Linked DNA regions of Homo sapiens: regions 1, 2 and 3 are each linked to region 4. Evidence: promoter capture Hi-C in human tissues and cell types (Jung and others, 2019). All regions are on one chromosome and are shown on one strand. Each heading gives the region's core, a stretch centred on a gene start or on the middle of the fragment in contact. The rest is flanking DNA. Distances are from core to core; before and after follow the strand shown. Region 1 overlaps GBF1 (golgi brefeldin A resistant guanine nucleotide exchange factor 1). Region 2 has its middle 32 kb from the start of NOLC1. Region 3 overlaps GBF1 (golgi brefeldin A resistant guanine nucleotide exchange factor 1). Region 4 holds the start of ELOVL3 (ELOVL fatty acid elongase 3).

Region 1 (3,243 bases), core at 553-3,052, 40 kb after region 4:
ATAAAGGAGGCAAATGTAGGCTGCAGAAGTGATGGATTTGCCAGTTTTTTCTCAGGTCTCAGAACTGTGGAGGGAAGTCTCTGTAGTCACTGCTGTGCTTTGGACCCATTACCCAGCAAAGGCAGCATAAGGCTCTGTTCAGCTTCTGGCCCAGTTTGTCCTTTTATGTCTCTCTCATTAACTCAAGGAAGCACATGGCTTTTATATTTAAATTTATTCAAACTGTAATCTTTGACATTTGAGTTAGCTTTTAGTACAGTTTTGCATTTATAGTAATATATATTATGTATTTTCTCTATCCCCAAAGAATCCGTTTTAATCTTTTCCGGATGCAAATTTCAGGCTGTCTTGTCCCATCTTCCCTCTCTTGCTCTCTTTCCCCTCCCCCCACGGAGTGTGTTTGATCAGGTGTGGCAGGAATATCCACTGTCAAGCTGCGCCCTTTATATTAGTCAATATTATCCTTCTCCCCCCTCCCTGTCTGTCTGCCCCTTTGGGCTTTCCCAGTTGATTTATAATTTTGGAATTCTCATTGGAGTCTGTAATACAGTTTGTTCATTATTTAACCAAAACCTGTTTAATGAGCAGAGAGAGGCAATGTAAATGTTAGGCATGTTGCAGTGATGTACCTTTGTGCTTCTCAGAGCGGGTGGGTAGTTAACTCTGTGCTGCCTGCAGGGCTGGGGTGTCCTGGCCTTAGGGGCAGAAGGGCCACTGCCTCTCTCTTACATCTGCCCAAGCCCTGCCATGGGTTTAGATTCCAAAGACACATTTCCTTTTATTCTTCTAAGAATCTTTTGGGGCTCTTGCATATGGGAGTTATCTTCAGTCTCGCAGCTAGACCTTGTGGTAGGATCTGTGGCATGGGATGGGGCATGGAAGGGAAAGTGAAATATCAGGATACTTGATATTGCTCTTGGTTTTAGATCTGACAAGAGTAGACAGTTTATGGGAATGCTTCTAGCCAATATGGTCTGTGGTCTTTGATCTCTTTGTTCCCAGACTAGATAAATTCTTGCAAGCCTTAGTTCCCTTCATCCAGTATAGCTTTATGGAAAGGGCTATAGTCAGTTGTGAGTTGTGGTGTTTGGTTGTAGTCATTTGCCTCCAGATATAGTCTGTCTTTGTCCTTGGTCTTTAAACTTAGATCATTACAAAGAGATTCTTTTCCAGAAAATTTTTGGTTTAAAACAGGAGAGGAACAGTCTAAAAGTATCACAACCAGGCTAGGTGCAGTGACCCACATCTGTAATCTAGCACTTTGGGTGGCCAAGACAGCAGGATTACTTGAGGCTGGGAGTTCGAGACCAGCATGGGCAACATACCAAGATTCCCCCCATCTCTACAAAAATAAAAATAAAAAAAATTAGTTGGGTATGGTGGCGTACAACTGTAGTTCCAGCTACTTAGGCTGAGGCGAGAGGATCACTTGAGCCCAGGAGTTCGAGGTTACAGTGACCCATGATTGCGCCACTGTACTCTAGCCTGAGTGACAAGAGTGAGACCCTTTCAATGAATGAATGAATGAATGAATGAATGAAAGAAAGTATCACAACCAAAATCTTCTCTTATGGGATCATCTTTTAATGACTTACTTTAAAGCCTTCAGGGCCAGGGCTTGAGGAAGACTTCTTAGGGTGTGCGTGTGTCTATGTGCGTGTGAGGGTGTGGTGGTGAGGAGTTTGCCTTTGGAGATTTAGTCCCAGGTCTTTTTAGCTCTGAGGACCTAATGTCCAGTTTTGGTTATCAGGACTGGGGTTCTCAGTGTAAGACTAAGGTGGAGGGCCGGGTGCGGTGGCTCACGCCTGTAATCCCAGCACTTTGGGAGGCCGAGGCGGGCAGATCACGAGGTCAGGAGATTGAGACCATCCTGGCGAACACGGTGAAACCCCGTCTCTACTAAAAAAATACAAAAAATTAGTCGGGCATGGTGGCAGGCGCCTGTAGTCCCAGCTACTCGGGAGGCTGAGGCAGGAGAATGGCCTGAACCTGGGAGGCGCAGCTTGCAGTGAGCCGAGATCGTGCCACTGCACTCCAGCCTGGGTGACAGAGCGATACTCTGTCTCAAAAAAAAAAACTAAGGTGGTCTTGAGGCCCAGTATAGGTACCCATATTAACTATAACATTGTTCTAGCTTCTTAGACCTTTTCTTTTGGGGATTCTCCAAGATTTGGATTCCTTCAGGGCCTAGCTTATTGAGTTGCTTCTAACTGATATTTATTGACTATCTGGTATGTGCCAGGCATTTTTCTTAGGTACTTAGGAAGTGGGTCTGTAATGGTAAACAATCAGTCAGACTTCCTGCCCTCATAGCCACTGGTTTGACAGGACTAATGACTCTAGCTGATCATTCCAAAGCTAACATTTTGTAGCCTCTACTTTATGCTATATGGTCCCTATCAGGCATGGAATGGATGACCATGAGTGAGAGCAATCTGCTGCCAGCTTTTCTTATTCCTGCTCTTTCCTTAAGGAACAAGCCAAAGAAATAAGTAAAAACAATAGCTCATATTTGCTTATTTGGCTTTCACATGTAAAGCTGTTATGGCCAGAGTTTAGCTATTCCCAAAGACATTGGTGGGTTGCATAGCGTAATTCTGGGGGATAGGATATTTCTTTACAGAGCTTACTGGGACAGCAGGTTATGGCGTGCTTGAGTTTAAGAGGGAGAAGCACGTGCCAGGAGAAAGTGGATGTGTCAGGAGTTTATTTAAGTATAGTTTATCCTGGACAAACACACCTGTAGGGTACTGTCTGTCTCAAGCTTTGTGAATTCAGAGTCTGAGCTAGGAGGTTTGAGTCCATCTAACCTCCAGAGGTTTGCAGAGAACATTTAAACAGAGTCTGGAAGCCAACTTGGGAGGAACTATGACTTAACACCTGTCTGGCCTGGGCCTCTTAGCAGTAGCCGCTTAGGTAGAAAAGAAACTGTTTGAGAATGCCTGATACCTCAAGTTTAATCTGTTTCATTTGGAAAATGGGGAGGTGTAGAGAAAAGAGATTTTAGTAGTCATTGTCAGGAAAAAGATTGAATAAGAGTATATTATATGTGCCAGGCATGGTGGCTCACACCTGTAATCCCAGCACTTTGGGAGGCTAAGGCGGGTGGATGACTTGAGGTCAGCAGTTCGAGACCAGCCTGGCCAACATGGTGAAACCCTGTCTCTACTAAAAATACAAAAATTAGCCAGGTGCGGTGGCGCATGCCTGTAGTCCCAGCTACTCAGGAGGCTGAAGCAGGTG
Region 2 (3,571 bases), core at 250-2,749, 42 kb before region 4:
TGCCGAGGCTGGAGTGCAGTGGCGCGATCTTGGCTCACTGCAACATCCGCTTCCTTGGTTCAAGCAATTCTCTGCCTCAGCCTCCCGAGTAGCTGGGATTACAGGCGCTGCCACCACACCCAGCTAATTTTTGTATTTTTAGTAGAGACGGGGTTTCACCATCTTGGCCAGGCTGGTCTTGAACTCCTGACCTCGTGATCTGCCTGCCTCGGCCTCCCAAAGTGCTGGGATTACAGGCATGAGCTACCACGCCTGGCCTTGGCATTTTTATTTTATTTATTTTGAGACAGGGTCTTGCTCTGTCACCCAGGCTGGAGTGCAGTGGCACTATCTCGGCTCACTGCAAGCTCCGCCTCCCAGGTTCATGCCATTCTCCTTCCTCAGCCTCCTGAGTAGCCGGGACTACAGGCACCACCACCACGCCTGGCTGATTTTTGTATTTTTAGTAAAGACGGGGTCTCACCATGTTAGCCAGGATGGTCTCGATCTCCTGACCTCGCGATCCACCTGCCTTGGCCTCCCAAAGTGCTGGGATTACAGGCGTGAGCCATTGCTTCTGGCCTTGTTTATTTTTTATTTTTATTTTTTTAAATTGAGACACAGCCCAGGCTGAAGTGGTGAGATCTCGGGTCACTGCAACCTTTGCTTCCTGGGTTCAAGTGATTCTCCTGCCTCAGCCTCCCAAGTAGCTGGGATTACAGGCACTAAGTCCCTATGCTGCACACAGCACAGGAACCCTTGGCCCAGCCCACAAAACTAATTTTTCCTCCTAGGCCTCTTGGCCTGTGATGGGAAGGGATGCTGTGAAGACTTCTGACATGCACTGGAGACATTTTCCCCATTGTCTTGGGGATTAACATTCGGGTCCTCATTACTCATGCAAATTTCTGCAGCCAGCTTGAATTTCTCCTCAGAAAATGGGATTTTTTTTTCTATCGCATTGTCAGGCTGCACATTTTCCAAGCTTTTATGCCCTGTTTCCCTTTTAAAACTGAATGCCGGCTGGGCGCGGTGGCTCACGCCTGTAATACCAGCACTTTGGGAGGCTGAGGTGGGCAGATCACGAGGTCAGGAGATCGAGACCATCCTGGCTAACACGGTGAAACCCTGTCTCTACTAAAAAATACAAAAAATTAGCCGGGCGTGGTGGTGGGCGCCTGTAGTCCCAGCTACTCGGGAGGCTGAGGCAGGAGAATGTGTGAACCTGGGAGGTGGAGCTTGCAGTGAGCCGAGATTGTGCTACTGCACTCCAGCCTGGGCAACAGAGCAAGACTCCGTCTGAAAAAAAAAAACAAAACCAAAACTGAATGCCTTTAACAGCACCCAAGTCACCTCTTGAATGCTTTGCTACTTAGAAACTTTTTTCCACCGGATACCCTAAATCATCTCTCTCAAGTTCAAAGTTCCATAAATCTCTAGGGCAGGGGCAAAATGCTGCCAGTCTCTTTGCTAAAACATAACAAGAGTCACCTTTGCTCCAGTTCCCAACAAGTTCCTCATCTCCATCTGAGACCACCTCAGTCTGGACCTTATTGTTCATATCACTATCAACATTTTTTTTTTTTTGAGACGGAGTTTCGCTCTTGTTGCCCATGCTGGAATGCAATGGTGTGATCTTGGCTCACCACAACCTCCACCTCCTAGGTAAGTGATTCTTCTGCCTCAGCCTCCCGGGTAGCTGAGATTACAGGCATGCACCACCACGCCTGGCTAATTTTGTATTTTTAGTAGAGAAGGGGTTTCTCCATGTTGGTCAGGCTGGTCTTGAACTCCCGATGTCAGGTCATCTGCCCGCCTCGGCCCCCCAAAGTGTTGGGATTACAGGTGTGAGCCACCATGCCTGACCCATTATCAGCATTTTTGTCAAAGCCACTCAACAAGTCTCTAGGAAGTTCCAATCTTTTCCACATTTTTCTCTCTTCTTCTGAGCCCTCTAAATAGTTTCAGCCTCTCCCTGTTACCCAGTTCTGAAGTTGCTTCCACATTTTCAGGTATCTTTTCAGCAACACTCCACTCCTGGTACTAATTTACTGTATTAGTCCATTTTCATGCTGCTGATAAAGACATACCTGAAGCTGGGCAATTTACAAAAGAAAGAAGTTTAATGGGCTTACAGTTCCACATGGCTGGGAGGCCGCACAATCACAGTAGAAAGACAAGGAGGAGCAAGTTACAACTTACGTGGATGGCAGTAGGCAAAAAGAGAACTTGTGCTGAGAAACTCCCATTTTTAAAACCATCAGATCTTTTGAGACCCATTCACTATCACCAGAACAGCACAGGAAAGACCCACCCCCATGATTCAGTCATCTCCCACTGGGTCCCTCCCACATCTTATTGGAGCTACAAGATGAGATCTGGGTGGGGACACAGAGCCAAACATATCACTGCATGTTCTCACTTATAAGTGGGAGGTAAATGATGAGAACACATTGGCACAAAGAGGGGAACAACAGACACTGGAGCCTACTGGAGGGTGGAAGATGGGAGGAGAGAGAGGATCAGAAAAAATAACTAATACTAGACTTTATACTTGGGTGAAGAAATAATCTGTACAACAAACCGCTGTGACAAGTACAAATTTGCTTATATAACAAACCTGCACATGTACCCCTGAACTTAAAAGGTAAAAAACAAACAAATGAAATCAACCCAATAGTTCCAGAGACTATTGTTTTGGATAAACATAAAAATTTATCTTTCTGGTCTTAAAGCTTGAAACTTATATTTGCTTTATTTGAGTTCCTTCATTAGTAAATGACCTTCAGGCTTCTCCCCCGCAAAAAAAAAGTATCAATGAACTGAAACTCACCAGATCACTACATCCAGACAATGAGACTTTGGACCCCTCATTCATCATGATTACTTCCTTGGCCCTCCCTACTTCCTGTTTTCTTACACATTACATTTCTTCCCCTCTGTATAAAACCCTTGTTTTAGTTGATCAGGGAGATGGATTTGAGGTTTTGAGCTCCCATCTTCTCAGCTGCAGCACCCGATTAAAGCCTTCTTCCTTGGCAATACTTGTCATCTCAGTCATTGGCTTTCTGTGCAGCGAGCTGTAGGACCTAGACTGAACCCCTGATGTTTCAATAACATATTTTGGTTCCCTGACTGGGAACATGTTGCTTGTGGCTCAGCTGCCATGGGTGGAGTCTCAGAAGCCCTCTTATGCAGCTGCCTGACAAATTTTATTTTATTTTATTATTTTATTTTATTTCCTTTGAGATGGAGTCTCACAGTGTCACCCAGGCTGTAGTGCAGTGGCACAATCTTGGCTCACTGCAACCTCTGCCTCCCAGTGCTATAGGAGTCAGAAGAAATCACTTGGGCAGATAGCCAGGGTACGGGAATCCTCAGTAAGGCTTTTCTTTTTCTTTTTTAATGAAAAGCTGCCCCAAATCATTTTCTAACAAAGAGCAGCCTGAAACCTGGGAGTTTGCAAGGGTGAATGCCAGCAGGAACTAAGGAGTAGACATGTTCAAGATAGCGACTTCATCTTCCCTTCTCTGCCAGTCATGTGTACTGTAAGGAGCAGACCAGATGGTGTCGATCACCTCGCCTCTACTAA
Region 3 (3,262 bases), core at 94-2,593, 56 kb after region 4:
CAAGTGATCTCTGTTATCTGAGCTACTTAAGATAGCTACCTACCTTACCAACAATCTGCATAAAATACTAAATCTACTAAATTATGTGATATTTTACAATTGACTAGAACTTTATAATTTATAAAGTGGTTTTTCATTATAGCCTTTCAATTTTAGAATCTATAAAGCACATAAATTATAATCTATAAATTATATTTTTATAAATTATCTATAAATTATATTTATATAAATTGTTATATTATAACTTAGACTCATACATAATCTATAATAGATTATTTCTATAAACATATTTATAGAAGAGTTGTAAAGAAGTTCTCATCTATCCAATGCCCAGTTTCCCCTGTTATTAACATCTTACATTAATATGACACATTTGTCACAATTAATGAACAAATATTGATTCATCATTAATTAAAGTCCATACTTTATTCAGATTTCATTAGGTTTTTACTTAATGGCCTTTTTCTGTTCAAGGATTCCATCTAGGATACCACATTACATTTAGTCATCACATCTTGTTAGGTTCCACTTGGCTGTAACAGTTTGCCTGTATTCTTTTTCTTTTCTTTTTTCTTTCTTTTCTTTTTTTTTTTTTTGAGACAGAGTCTCGCTCTGTCGCCCAGGCTGGAGTGCAGTGGCGCGATCTTGGCTCACTGCAAGCTCCGCCTCCCAGGTTCCTGCCATTCTCCTGCCTCAGCCTCCTGAGTAGCTGGGACTACAGGCGCCCACCACCACACCCGGCTAATTTTTTTTTTTTTTGTATTTTTTAGTAGAGATGGGGTTTCACCGTGTTAGCCAGGATGGTCTCAATCTCCTGATCTTGTGATCCACCCGCCTCGGCCTCTCAAAGTGCTGGGATTACAGGTGTGAGCCACCGCGCCCGGCCGCCTGTATTCTTTTCAAGTTTCACAAAAACTCACAAGATAGACTGTGCCTTTATTAATATTCCCCTTTTACAGATAAAACTCAGGTTCCAGAAAAATTAAGTAACATTTTCAAGGTTATACAGTAAAAGCTTCTTTTAAAGTGTGATTATGATTTGGAAAAAGGCGATGAGGTTATTTATTTGCTTTTCACGTGAATAAGGGCAGACTTACAGCTAACCTTCAGGTGGGCCATTTACTGAAGAGGAACAAGAGACAGAGGTGAGTCTAGCTTGTTCCTGGACTCTTCTGTCTTGCTGGAGACAAATTAACATTATTATTTTAATCACAATTATTTTGGGAAAACCCCTTTCTCTTTGATTCTGCTATGTCTACCAAAGGAACTGATGGCAGAAAATCCTGAGTTAGCCTTGTTCCCTGGCAACAGACTTCAGGCTGCTTACTGGTCCCTGTTGTTGGATACCAGGTTCAGTAGGAAAGTCTGCTGAGAGTATAGCATGAACACTAACCCAACTAGCCTATTTCCAGCACGTGTGGTGTTAACTATCTGGGAATAGGAACATGAGTTTTTAAATTCCAGTCTCTAATTGGGTAGGCTGAAGTTCTGGCTTGGAGTAAGGAGATTCACAGAACTGCAGTGCTAAGAGATAGTAGAAAAATTTAAAAATTCAATAAGACATGGCACTTAACTGACTCTGAATGCTCTGTCCGGAGGGATGAGTAAAGGGGAGAGGTGAGAGGAGGTAAAGTAGCGGGTTACTAATGATCCTAGATACTATTAAAAGATTATCACAAGGAGGTGGAAACTATTGAGGTACAAACCATCAGATCTTAAGGTAAGGAGTCACTCATCTTGCCCAGAGAAGTAGTAGTGAAGATAGTACCTGGATCCTAAAAGGTAACTTTTAAAGTACTTCAACCTAAGATGACAGAGGGTAGGCAGTTTATTGATACCCTTAACAACCACTTGTTAGTAGAGCCATTTTAATTAATGGGAAAGGGGATCATTCTCCGTTTATGCTTTTATTATATGTAGCTATGAGCATAGAAGCTGTGTTTGGACCCTCTGGTGACTATTGCCCTCTTCTAGTTGTGTCCAGGCACAGGTAAATTCTTGAGGCCAGGAAGGGCCTGGCTTTATCTCCAAAAGGAAGCTGTGGAAATAGCAATGAGCAAAACAATGAGAAAGAGCTTTAGAAAATTTGCAAATATTGTGTATCTTCATGGCATGATGAAGTGGGATTAGGACAGGGGAGAAAGTATAAACCACCAATTATAGGAGTCTTTAAGGGCTTGGGTGACTGAGGCCTTCTGCTAGGAGGCTGGGAGGTTGTTGATGACAGCAAAGATGTAACAGGTATTGAATACTAGAGGATAGACCTCATACTCTGAAAATGCTTTTGCCTCAACAATTTGAAAGAGAAATATGAAAGACAAAGTGACAATATGAAGAATGACTATTCAAAGTGCTTCTACCAGTAAGTCTTGTCTGTTGGCAAGTTTTAACCTGTAGGTAGGGGAAAAACGTGGGAGGATCTCTTATTCAGAATGCAAAACAGGAGACAGTGAAGTACCTGTGTTTCCAAAGAACTCCGAATTGAGCTGTGGTGGAAGAGGAGGAAATTTCTTACTGTGGTCTTGTATAATGTGAAATCTTTGTGAAGTCTCAATAGATGTTAAGTCTCCAAGGAGGGGAGACTTTTTAGCTGCTAAAGAAGCTTAGGTTCAGTGAGCCTCCAGTGGGAATACAGACATAGACGTCCACTGACATTTCTGCAACCAGTTTTGGTGAGTGGAAAGCAACTAGGTAAGTTTCACTTTTTGCAAGAATCCCAAGTGACCCTTTGCACTATGGACTGAGGTACCTGCTTGTCTCTACAAAAACTATAGAGGAGACACGACAGGCTTTAACTGGAAATTGTTCATGGTTTCTTAGAAGGGAAGCTCATATCCTGTTAAAGCACTTTAGAAAAATAAAGTCAAATTAGAGATAAGAGGATCTTTACTTGTATTTTCAAGAGCTTTTTTAAAAAACTGAAGTGAAATGCATATAACATAAAATTAACCATTTTAAAGTGAAACAATATAGTGGCATTTAGTACATTCACAATGTACCCTATCTAATTCCAAAACATTTTCATCGCCCCAAAAGGAAATCCTGTACCCATTAAGCAGTTGCTCCACACTTTCCCTTCCCCTCCAGCCCCTGGTAGCCATCCATCTGCATTCTGTCTCTGTAAATTTACCTATTCTGGATATTTCATATAAATGGAATCATATAATATGTGTCCTTTTATGTCTGGCTTCTTTCTCTTAGCATAATGTTTTTGAGGGTCATCCATGCTGTAACATGAATCAGCACTTCAATTCTTTTTAGG
Region 4 (3,537 bases), core at 378-2,877:
TTTTTTTTTGAGACGGAGTCTCACTCTGTCACCCAGGCTGGAGTGCAGTGGCACGATCTCTGCTCACTGCAAGCTCTGCCTCCCAGGTTCACGCCATTCTCCTGCCTCAGCCTCCCGAGTAGCTGGGACTACAGGCGCCTGCCACCACGCCCGGCTAATTTTTTGTATTTTTTAGTAGAGACGGGGTTTGACGGTGTTAGCCAGGATGGTCTCGATCTCCTGACCTCATGATCTGCCCGCCTCGGCCTCCCAAGGTGCTGGGATTACAGGCGTGAACCACCGTGCCCGGCCGAACCACTGAAGGTTTTTAAGCAGGAAAGCAGAGCTGTTTTCTGGATGAGCAAACAGAAAGTAGTGGTTTTCCAAGTACAGTCTGAGACAACCTATAGGACCAGAATCTCTGCAGTTGAGGCTCAGGAATCTGGTAATCAGCCAGGTATAGGAACTCTTTTCTGATTGCAATGCAGTGAAGAGCAGAAGCACTGTATTAGAGAAAGAGGCAGTGCAACCAGGTAACGTGACCAGGTGAGAAGTGATGAGGTACAGAGACAAAGAGATGCACTTTTGAGTCACTTAGATGGCACTGATAGGACTTCCACTACACCCTCGCATAGACAGTGGCTGAGGTTCAGGAAATAGAGCTGGGGTTCCTACTTGGATCCTCTGGCTCTAGAGCTTTACTGCACATAGCCATTTATACCCACATCTTGATTTTAATTATTTTATATCTATGTTTCTTAGCACTTTTTGCAAATTTCCACCTTATCTCAAACTGCCCTCAAGCCTTGTATTTCTCCTTCGCTTTCATAAAACCTAGGAAAGAAATAAGGGACAGCCAAGTAAAACTTTTAAAAGTTTTAGAACATTTATTTCTTTGGGGCTGGTTACACAGGCGAGAAAGAAGTAGATTTGGTTAGGGAGAGAAAACAACAGGCCTTGGGGAGATACACTGGCTCTCCCCCTCCCTAAACCCTAAGAGGCCTCCAGGAAACCTGAAGACAATAATTCCAGAAGCCCAGAGGGTGACCCCATTTCCTCTCTCCATGGTTATTACTGTCAGTCTGGAGCAGTTCAGGAATTCAGGAAACTATAAAGAAACCACAACAGCCTCAACAACCCAAACATCAACATCAACAACCTCAACAATAAAACTCCTTAAAATTCATCTCCTTCCACCCACTCACAACCGCAGACTCGAAGCTAGGAGGTGGAAGGGACTACAGAAGCTCTGCGTTGCCCAGGTTAGTATTTGCTCATCACAGGCCTGGGTTTCCCAGGATCTCAGGGAGCCTGGAAACTGACGCCTCCATTTCTGGGTGGGAGCACCAAAGCCTAAGGACACCTTTCCTCTCTCTTCACTGCTAAGCAGGTCAAGATTAAAGCAAACCGAGGCAAAGGCCACGGTTGACAGTTCCAAGGGAACCCGCAAGGCCGCACAGGATGGGGTGGACGTTTTACGGGAGAAAAGGCTGGGGAAGTGGGCGGGCGATGGCCTACGACGGGACTTGGGGCGGGGTGTGCGAAACGCCTGGCAGGCGGGCCCTTGAGTATGACCAATCAGAATGCGGACTGCGTCCCAGGGGCGGAGCAGAGGCGTATCTTGGTCGAGATTGGATAGCGGCGGGGCGCAGGAAAGAGGTCGCGCCAGCCCGGGCAGGCAGCTTTGCAAGTCCGCGTTATATATCGCAGTGGCTGCGCCCGGGATAGCTGGCTGCGCCGCCGCGCACATGCCTAGGTTCGACGCCCTCCTCCCTTTGCCCAGGAGTTCCTTCTGTCCCGGCTCTGTTCCGTCTCGCCCCGAGGTTCACGCCATCCTCGGAGCCCCAGCCTTTCACCCAGCGCCTCCAAGCTTTGGACCTTGACTTCTGCAAAACTAGATGGTCACAGCCATGAATGTCTCACATGAAGTAAATCAGCTGTTCCAGCCCTATAACTTCGAGCTGTCCAAGGACATGAGGCCCTTTTTCGAGGAGTATTGGTGAGACTTTGGGAGAGGGAAAGGCCATGCCAGGGCCCCGGGGCCGGGGCGCGAGGGGGTGGCATTGAATGCCCACAATGATTTTCTTACAGAGCAGAGTTATGGGACTCCCTTGTACTGGCTTCACACTACCTTTGTCCGAGGTGCAGGTAGTATGTGGCACCTCAAAGAGATTAGAGCTGAAAGCAAGCAAGCAGAAATAAGAGGATGAGGGAGAACGTGGAAATATACAGAAGTCAAAGAGAGCGTGTAGTGAGAAGGGTCTTGGAGGCGTGAGGTTGATCTGAAGCCTTACTAGATGACTTCCCCGTCCTTTGTGGCTGTGTGTGCGCGCGTGTGTGCACAGTGCAGGGCCCGGGGGACAGCCTGCCCTTTACAATTATCCCATCGTTCCCCAGGTGCTCCACCGTTCCTGCTGTGGAGAAGGAGGCGAAGTCAGAGAGCTCTTCCAAGCTTTCCCCAGGAAGAGCTCTCTGGCTTTGCCTTAAAGCTCCCCAGAGGTTTTGGAGGCTGACTTTATGCTCCAACCAATTTGCCATACCCCAGCCAGGGAGAAGCTATTGCCACATTCTTCTTACGCCACAGCCCTGGTATGCTTCTAGGAGCCCCAACCAGGGAGAAGCTATTGCCACACTTCTTACACCACAGCCCTGGGCTGCTTCTAGGCGCGGGCCAGACAGCCGTCACCCACCTCTAACCCCACTGAGAGAGCAATAATCACAGAAACCTTGGACATAGCTCCTGCCCTGTGCTAGATACTTTGTATACGTTAATACCCCCAGGAGAGATGTAGTATTCGCGCTCTACAAATGAGGAAGCCAAGGCTCAGAGAATTAAGTTGGTTTTTCCAATGTCACATAGCTAGTAAGTGGCAGAACTGGGACTCCAACCCAGAGCACTCACCTGGAGAGATGAGTGGGCATTTCTCTAATCAGCACCCACCCATGAGCCCATCCCTCTGCCTTCTGCTTGCCAGGGCAACCTCATTCCCCATAGCCCTGATCTACCTGGTTCTCATCGCTGTGGGGCAGAACTACATGAAGGAACGCAAGGGCTTCAACCTGCAAGGGCCTCTCATCCTCTGGTCCTTCTGCCTTGCAATCTTCAGGTAAGACCCCATCCCACTCCCTGCCTCTTCTCTAGATCTTAGACCACCATTCTATCCCTTGAAGCTTTCCCGATTGCATCAACCTCCATCCTGTCCCCAAGTTGCCTTGTAACACTCTCCCCATCTCATTCTCGGCTTTAGTTCCCCTCCCAGCCTTCACCCTCTTCTGTTATATTATCCTGTTTTCCTTCTCTTTTAGACCCCTACCTGGTGGTCTCTGCTTTGTCCCTCTTGCCTTCGTAGAGTCTGTACTCGCAACTAATTTCTCCAGCCTCTAATAGTGTCACCTCCTAACACCCTCTCTCAAGACCCTCCAATAACTTCCCCATATTTTCTCCCCCAAACTCCTTCAGTCTTCCCCTATCCCTCTACACATCTCCTCCCAGGCTCCTAACCCCTCCCAAGAACCCCATTCCTTAACTCAACTTTCAGTCCCATCCCCCTGCATTCC

What was found. The method cuts DNA at HindIII sites, captures the fragments that hold promoters and counts their contacts. A contact is called where the count stands out against the background at its distance.
Region 1: a contact is called between a fragment that was not itself captured here and the fragment with the promoter of ELOVL3 in region 4, in 4 of the 25 tissues and cell types used here (aorta, dorsolateral prefrontal cortex, spleen and 1 more).
Region 2: a contact is called between a fragment that was not itself captured here and the fragment with the promoter of ELOVL3 in region 4, in 3 of the 25 tissues and cell types used here (H1 embryonic stem cells, heart left ventricle and stomach).
Region 3: a fragment that was not itself captured here is called in contact with the fragment with the promoter of ELOVL3 in region 4 in 3 of the 25 tissues and cell types used here (IMR-90 fibroblasts, aorta and mesendoderm cells).

Annotation. Positions count from the first base shown.
Region 1 is chr10:102,264,173-102,267,415 of GRCh38, forward strand. The region is part of intron 3 of GBF1 (golgi brefeldin A resistant guanine nucleotide exchange factor 1); the gene reads left to right. Among named protein-coding and RNA genes, the nearest start is that of GBF1, 20 kb to the left of the region's middle. The HindIII fragment of the contact is 6,652 bases long and covers 1-3,243 here.
Region 2 is chr10:102,182,475-102,186,045 of GRCh38, forward strand. No RefSeq gene overlaps it. Among named protein-coding and RNA genes, the nearest start is that of NOLC1, 32 kb to the left of the region's middle. The HindIII fragment of the contact is 4,792 bases long and covers 1-3,571 here.
Region 3 is chr10:102,281,349-102,284,610 of GRCh38, forward strand. All of the region lies in intron 3 of GBF1 (golgi brefeldin A resistant guanine nucleotide exchange factor 1), which reads left to right. Among named protein-coding and RNA genes, the nearest start is that of GBF1, 37 kb to the left of the region's middle. The HindIII fragment of the contact is 3,528 bases long and covers 1-3,107 here.
Region 4 is chr10:102,224,672-102,228,208 of GRCh38, forward strand. It overlaps ELOVL3 (ELOVL fatty acid elongase 3), which reads left to right and starts at 1,628. Exons shown (of 4, transcript NM_152310.3): 1 at 1,628-1,978; 2 at 2,955-3,086. The coding sequence starts at 1,878. RefSeq lists a silencer at 1,610-1,659. The HindIII fragment of the contact is 12,375 bases long and covers 1-2,140 here.